Linked DNA regions of Homo sapiens: region 1 is linked to region 2. Evidence: promoter capture Hi-C in 16 types of primary human blood cells and fetal thymus (Javierre and others, 2016). All regions are on one chromosome and are shown on one strand. Each heading gives the region's core, a stretch centred on a gene start or on the middle of the fragment in contact. The rest is flanking DNA. Distances are from core to core; before and after follow the strand shown.

Region 1 (4,008 bases), core at 485-2,984, 650 kb after region 2:
CACCGTGCCCGGCCTTTTTTTTGTTTTTTGAGATGGAGTCTCATTCTGTGGCCCAGGCTGGAGTGCAGCAGCGCCATCACGGCTCACCGCAACCTTCACCTCCTGGGTTCAAGCAATTCTCCTACTTCAGCCTCCCAAGTAGCTGGGATTACAAGTGCGTGCCACCACGCCCAGCTAATTTTTGTATTTTTAGTAGACGGGGTTTCACCATGTTGATCAGGCTGGTCTTGAACTCCTGACCTCAGGTAATCCACCCACTTTGGCCTCCCAAAGTGCTGGGATTACAGGTATGAGCCACCACGCCTGGTCCAAAAAATACTTCTGAAAAATATAGTTCACTTATTTTCTGGAACACCCCTCAATATAGATTTGTCTTGTGATTTCTCATTTATTAGACTGAGATTATGAGTTTTGGGCAAGAATGTCATGGAGATGATGTGCCCTTCTAATCACATCATATCAAGGAGTTCATGATGTTGATAAGTCCTATTGTTAATTACATGAACATGAATCAGTTGGTTAAGGTGTTGTCTACCAGGTTTCTCCACTGGTTCCATTGCCTGCAATGCAAACTGTCCGTGGAGGAAGTGATACCCACTTCCTAAAGCAGCCGCCTGAGGCAATGTGCGCAATGCAGCCTTATACACGCTGGCACAAGAGGTCCCTGAAGGAGTTTTGTTTTTTGTTTTTAAGCAAGAGTTCCTAGGAAAACCTGAGAGTTTTACCTTCTCAGCTGGTTCACACTTTGTCTCTGACTTGCTCCTGAGATGTATCATGGAGATCACCCCAGCCTAACCTGATCCTGATGCATTTTTTTTTTTGAGACAATCTTGCTCTGTCACCTAGGCTGGAGTGCAGTGGCGTGATCTTGGCTCACCGCAACCTCCATCTTCCGGGTTCAATCGATTCTCCTGCCTCAGCCTCCCGAGTAGCTGGGACTACAGCCATGCGCCACCTCGTTCTGCTAATTTTTGTATTTTTAGTAGAGATGGGGTTTCACCATGTTGGCCAGGCTGGTCTCGAACTCCTGAGCTCAAGTGATCCACCCGCCTTGGCCTCCCAAAGTGCTGGGATTATAGGCGTGAGCCACCACAGCAGAACTTGATGCAAAATTTTTGGTGGTGAAAATATAATGGTGACTCATGCCTGTATCCTCAGCTACCCTGGAGGCAAAGGTGGGAGTGTTGCTTGTACCCAGGAGTTTGAGACCAGGCTGGGCAACATAGTGAGATCCTGTCTGTAACAAAAGAATAAAAAAGAGGGAGGAAGAAAAATATATAATAAGAGAAAAGACCTTTGTTTCTGTCTTTACTTCATACTGAAAAAATCAGGAGTAACATTTAGAAAAGTATTTGCTTACCATATAATTAAGGAAAACCATATCCAAGTTTTACAAAACCAGCCATTTATTCTTTTGCTCATTCAATAATCATTAATTGAGTATCCACTCTGTTAACAGGTCCTGCCTCCAAGGAACTCATATGAGATGGGAAAATCAGGGATTACAAATGTGTCTAAGACCTCAGACACAGATGGCTGTAGGGAAGGGTGGTCAAACAGACAAAATGGGGATTAATTGTGCCCAGCACTACTTCCAAAATGGACCGAAGACTGAAAAAGGATTGTGAAGGATGGCAGGAAGTGAAGTTGGAGTGAGGTGCAGAGGCTAGGTCATGGATAGCAGGGAATATTAGGACTTTGCTGGGGTAATGAGGAAGTCATGAGAAGGTTATGGGACATGACAAAAATTTGTGTTTTATTTAAAAGTATTTAAAAAAAAAGGTAGAACAGCCTGGGCAACATGGCAAAACCCCATCTTTACAAAATATACAAAAATTGGCCTGGCGCGGTGGCTCACACCTGTAATCATAGCACTTTGGGAGGCCTAAGCGGGTGGATCACGAGGTCAGGAGGTCAAGACCAGCCTGGTCAATATGGTGAAACCCTGTCTCTACTAAAAATACAAAAATTAGCCAGGCGTGGTGGTGCACACCTGTAATCCCAGCTACTCAGAAAGCTGAGGCAGAAGAATCGCTTGAACTTGGGAGGCGGAGGTTGCAGTGAGCTGAGATCATGCCACTGCACTCCAGCCTGGGTGACAGAGTGAGACTCCATCTCAAAAATAAAATAAAATAAAATATAAAAATAAAATTATTAGCAGGGCATGGTGGCAGGCGCCTGTAATCCCAGCTACTCGGGAGGCTGAGATGGGAGGATTGCTTGAGCCCAGGAGGTCAAGGCTGCAGTGAGCCAAGATCGTGCCACCGCACCCCAGCCTGGACAACAGAGCAAGACCCTGTTTCAAAAAAACCCCAAAAAGTAACATGCATAAAACATACAGGGTCAACATCCCCAAAATGCAAAGAGCTCCTCCAATTCAATAACTATCAACTGCAGGAAATCCCTGACTGAAAAATAGGCAATGGACATAATCAGGTATTTCATAACATAAGATATACAGGCTGGGAACAGTGGCTCATGCCTGTAATCCCAGCACTTTGGGAGGCCAAGGTGGGCGGATCACCTGAGGTCAGGAGTTCGAGACCAGCCTGGCCAATATGGTGAAACCCCATCTCTATTTTTTGTAAAAATACAAAAAAATTAGCTGGGCGTGGTGGCGGGCACCTGTAATCCCAGCTACTCGGGAGGCTGAGGCAGGAGAATCGCTTGAACGTGGGAGGCGGAGGTTGCAGTGAGCCGAGATCGCGCCATTGCACTCCAGCCTGGGCGACAAGAGTTAAACTCCATCACACAGACACACACACACACACACACACACACACACACACACACACGAAAAGAAAAAAAGAAAAAAAAGAAAGAAGTACAAATCACGGCCGGGTGCGGTGGCTCACTCCTATAATTCCAGCACTTTGTGAGGATGAGGCGGGCGGATTACCAGGTCAAGAGTTTGAGACCAGCCTGGCCAACATGGTGAAACCCCATCTCTACTAAAAATACAAAAATTAGCTGGGCGTGGTGGCAGGCCCCTGTAATCCCAACTACTCAGGAGGCTGAAGCAGGAGAATTGCTTGAACCTGGGAGGTGGAGGTTGCAGTGAGCTGAGATTACGCCACCGCACTCCAGCCTGGGGAACAACAGCAAAACTCCATCTCAAAAAAAAAAAAAAAAAAAAAAAGAATTAGTTCACTTTGGAAGGCTGAGGCAAGACAATCACTTGAGGCTGGGAGTTCGAGACCAGCCTGGGCAACTTAGCAAGACCCCCCCCCCCACGCCCATCTCTCCAAAATTAAAAAATTAGCCTTGCATGGTGGTGCCTGCCTGTAGTCCAAGTTATTGGGGAGACTGAGATGGGAGGATTGCTTGAGCCCAGGAGTTGGAGGCTGCAGTGAACTATGATGCCACTTACTTTATCGATAAATAAGTGTCTTAGACTGTTTATGTTGCTATAAGGTAATAACTGAGCCTGATTTATTTATTTATTTATTTATTTATTTATTTATTTATTTTTGAGACAGAGTCTTACTCTGTCACCCAGGCTGGAGTGCAGTGGCACGATCTCAGCTCACTGCAACCTCTGCCTCCCGGGTTTAAGCGATTCTCATGCCTCAGCCTCCCGAGTAGCTGGGACTGCAGGCATGTGCCACCATGCCCGGTTAATTTTTGTATTTTTAGTAGAGACGGAGGTTTCACCATGTTGGCCCGGCTGGTCTTGAACTCCTGATCTCAGGTGATCTGCCCACCTCGGCCTCCCAAAGTGCTGGGATTACAGGCGTGAGCCACCGTGCCTGGCAGGTAACTTATTTTTATTTTATTTATTTAATTTTATTTTTTGAGATGTACTCTTGCTGTGTCGCCAGGCTGGAGTGCAGTGGCATGATCTCAGCTCACTGCAACCTCTGCCTCCTGGGCTCAAGCAATTATCCTGCCTCAGCCTCCCAAGCAGCTGGGACTACAGGCACCCGCCACCACGTCTAGCTTTTTTTTTTTTTTTTTAGTAGAGATGGGGTTTCACCATGCTGCTCAGGCTGGTCTTGAACTCCTGAG
Region 2 (3,570 bases), core at 1,053-3,552:
TTTCTTTGCTAAAAGTTAAACATCCTCTTCGTGAGCGACAAGAAAACAGGACGTGGGAAGCGTCCCACAGGGTGAACATGGGCCCCCAATGCCTGGCACCCCCTCCTCTCTTGTGGAGCGGAGGCCTGGTGGCTCGAACCCTTCCTTTCTCACACTCGCTCGCCTCTGCAGGGGAGTCATGTTCCCACAGTCCCACAATGCCCTTGAGTTCTGCTGACAAAGCTCTGGCTTCTTCCCTGGTTCTCAGAGTCTCTACGCCTCCACCCAGGGCTCCATAGAAATGCAGGACGCACCACTGGGGAAAAAATTAAGGAACGAAGCAACAAAAGGATGAATTCAACCAACATTTATTGAACACCAACTGTGCGCCACCCCTGTTCCAGGCACTGGGAGGCAGCAGTGAACATGACAGAACAGGAATCCCTGCCTGGTGAAGCTCGTGTGCTAAGGAATCAATCATTCTGTTTTTTTTTTTTTTCTTGAGACAGGGTCTCACTCTGTCGCCCAAGCTGGAGTGCAGTAGCACGATGTCGGCTCACTGCAACCTCCACCTCCCAGGTTCAAGTGATCCTCCCACCTTGGCCTCCTGAGTAGCTGGGACTAGAGGTGCGCATCACCACGCCCAGCTAATTTTTGTATTTTTAGTAGAGACGGGGTTGCACTATGTTGGCCAGGCTGGTCTCCAACTCCTGACCTCAAGTGATCCCCCCGCCTCGCCCTCCCAAAGTTCTGGGATTATAGGCGTGAGCCACTGCATCCAGCCCTTTTATTTTTTAAAGAGACATGGGTTCTCGCTATGTTGCCCAGACTAGATTCAAACCCCTGGGCTCCAGGGATCCTCCCACCTCAGCCTCTGGAGTAGCTGGGACTAAAGGCACATGCCGCCGCCCCTGGCTAATACTCATATGCATGTTGCCAGGATTAAAATGAATGAACAAAGGGAAGGACATGCTGGAGCCAACTTATACAGGTTGGGAGGAGCTGTTCAATTTTCAGAAATTTTGCAAACTGGTTGTTAAACAGCTGGTTTAACAACTGGTTTTGTTTGTTTGTTGAGACAGGGTCTCACTCTGTCACCCACAGTGGAGTGCAGTGGCAAGATCAAGGCTCACTGCAGCCTTGACCTCCCAGGCTCATGCAATCCTCCCACCTCAGCCTCCCAAGTAGCTGGAACTACTCGCACACACCACCACGCCCGGCTATTTTTATTATTTGTAGAGACGGGGATCTCACCATATTGCCCAGGCTGGTCTTGAAGTCCTGGACTCAAGCGATCCTTCCACCTCAGCCCCCTAAAGTTAAACAGCTATGGTTAAAAATGAAATGATATAAACTTACTCAAAACTGGTAACTTCCTAATTTTACCACATTCCACTATTCTCTATGCTCTTGAGGTCATTTACCCCCATTTTATCTGTATGGTAAAAATAATACATGATAGTGCACTACTGCATCTCTTTTAAACTCCCTGTTCAGTGACCACAGGTCGGTACCTTGAAATCTAACAAGAAGATTGTACCTAAGCCATGGAAATTGGTAAATGCTAGAAACCAGCCTCCCTTCCCCCCACCCCTCCCCGCCACCACCCCCGCCCCAGCCAGTGGTTAACCATTTACCAGCACACCACTGAGGGCATTTAGAGCCTAGCACATGGTAAACACTATGATAAACGTTTTCATTATTTTTCCGTTTGTCCACTGGGTCAGGATGTATAGTCTTTTTTTGTGTCTGGGATGGAATTTAAAATATTTGAAGATCACAGAATTACAAAAGCCCAGAGAGTGGCTAAGCTACACCTATTTAACCCTCCCAATAATGCTGTTAAGTCTATACTATTGATTATCCCCACTTTCCAGACAGGGAAACTGAAGTTCTGAGGCAGTAAAACTCAGGCAGCGCCATGCATTAGCTGTAGTGCGATCTGAAATTGCAGCCGAGCAGCCTCCGCGCGCTCGCGCACTTCAAGAACGCATTTTCCTTACTGTCACGTTTATGCCCCGAGTGGTAATTTCGCTTCCCGGCACGCGAAAAATGAATGGGCGCCATCTTGCGCGTGGCATCTTGGGAAATGTAGTTTACAGGCTCAATAACAAGCACGGTCCAAGAAGGGAGGGGCGGGGGAGCAAATCGATCTTGGCCTCGGAAGAAAAAGAACAAAGAATCGCTGGCAACTTGCGCGTCGCGTCGCTGCAGCCACGCAGTGCGTGGATTCAGCCGCTTTGGCCGTGCCCGTTGCATGCCGGGAAACGCAGTTCGCGAGCCCCGGATACGTCGACAATAGATGACGGGGCTCACGTTGTACGTTCACATCAGGTCCCGGCCCGCCGGAACCTGGGCGATCCACGATGCCGAGTTTGCCACGCTGCGACAGCCCATAGGCTTGCCCCCCCGGGCATTCGGGTGGACTACGAACACAAACTGAAGCCCTAGGACTTGTCGCCCGTTTGCGCTCTCGCCGAGGCACAGGCTGCTCGCGGACCACCCTGCTCCGAAAACTAAGGTGGGCCCTGGGGCGCGGAGGACAGGAATGCGGGCGGAGGCTATTGAGGCACGCCTGCACTGTCCCGCCTGCGGGGAAAGGAGGGAGGTCCGCCCTGGGCGCCGTAGCTGTGTATGGTTCGGGCGGCTGGCACCGGGTGGGTTCTAGACCCAAGGTTTGTCTGCAGAAGGGGACCAGTAGACGGGGTGGATTCGAGGTGGGGACATGGGACGCAGCGGTCGGAGCCGCCTGGAGGGGTACCCGGTGGTCCCGATGGAGCTATCATCTTTGAGGTATTGATGAGGAGGGACGGGGAGTGTGGTCAGAAGGCTGTTTTGGGAGGTTGGGTGGAGCGTGAGGGTGGGGTGTTACTGGGGAATCAATGGGGGCTAATAAGAATATTTTAGTCGAACTGTTGTTCATTGATTGATTAATGAGGGGATGGCAGAGTAAGCAACTAGAATATAACGAGTGATGGATGGGAAAATGATCCCCCAGGTATTGATGGAGGTATGATATTCAACGGGTTAATGGAAAGTGATGGGGCATCGTAATGGCAAGGATGATGGTGAGGTTGTGGGGGGAATAATAGATGGATGGAGGTCATGATCAAGGGGCCTTGGTGAAAGAAAAGATAATGAGAGGCTGATGGTGTTGTAGTCAGAGTCAGTAGTTGGGCTATGGTGGCATGACCGTCGAGGAATTAGGGGACAGAGTGAGTAAAGAGAGGGCAATAGTAAACTAGGGTTGGGGGGGTTAACTTCTGTTGATACATAGTAGGTGAATAGTAAACTGTTGGAGTGTGATCATCCAGTGATGGATCCATGGAGAGCAGGGTGGACAGTGAGGGGAGAATGGGGAACTGATGTGTGATCAGTTAACGTGTTTGTTAATGAAAGAGTTACAGGGCAGGAGGCTAGTGCTGTGATCTATGAAGGGTCTATTGGAGAAAACTGAGTTAATGGGGGCTGATAAATCAGTAATTGAATGCTTAATGGGGAGCTAATAGACCATGATTCTCCAGGCATTGTTAGAGGTTCATAAGGATGTAGTAATAAAGGGGCCTAATCATCTAAGGGATTAATGGCGAA

What was found. Contacts are between HindIII fragments. The CHiCAGO score rates a contact against its expected background, and 5 or more counts as called.
Region 1: a contact is called between a fragment that was not itself captured here and the fragment with the promoter of FTSJ1 in region 2, in 1 of 17 cell types (neutrophils). The highest score is 5.3, in neutrophils.

The regions. Positions count from the first base shown.
Region 1 is chrX:49,129,024-49,133,031 of GRCh38, forward strand. No RefSeq gene overlaps it. Among named protein-coding and RNA genes, the nearest start is that of GPKOW, 7.3 kb to the left of the region's middle. The HindIII fragment of the contact is 7,777 bases long and covers 1-4,008 here.
Region 2 is chrX:48,473,897-48,477,466 of GRCh38, forward strand. FTSJ1 (FtsJ RNA 2'-O-methyltransferase 1) reads left to right here and starts at 2,303. Exons shown (of 13, transcript NM_012280.4): 1 at 2,303-2,500. It overlaps LOC124905185 (a long non-coding RNA gene), which reads right to left and starts at 2,447. Exons shown (of 2, transcript XR_007068226.1): 1 at 1,983-2,447; 2 at 332-1,292. The HindIII fragment of the contact is 16,848 bases long and covers 1-3,570 here.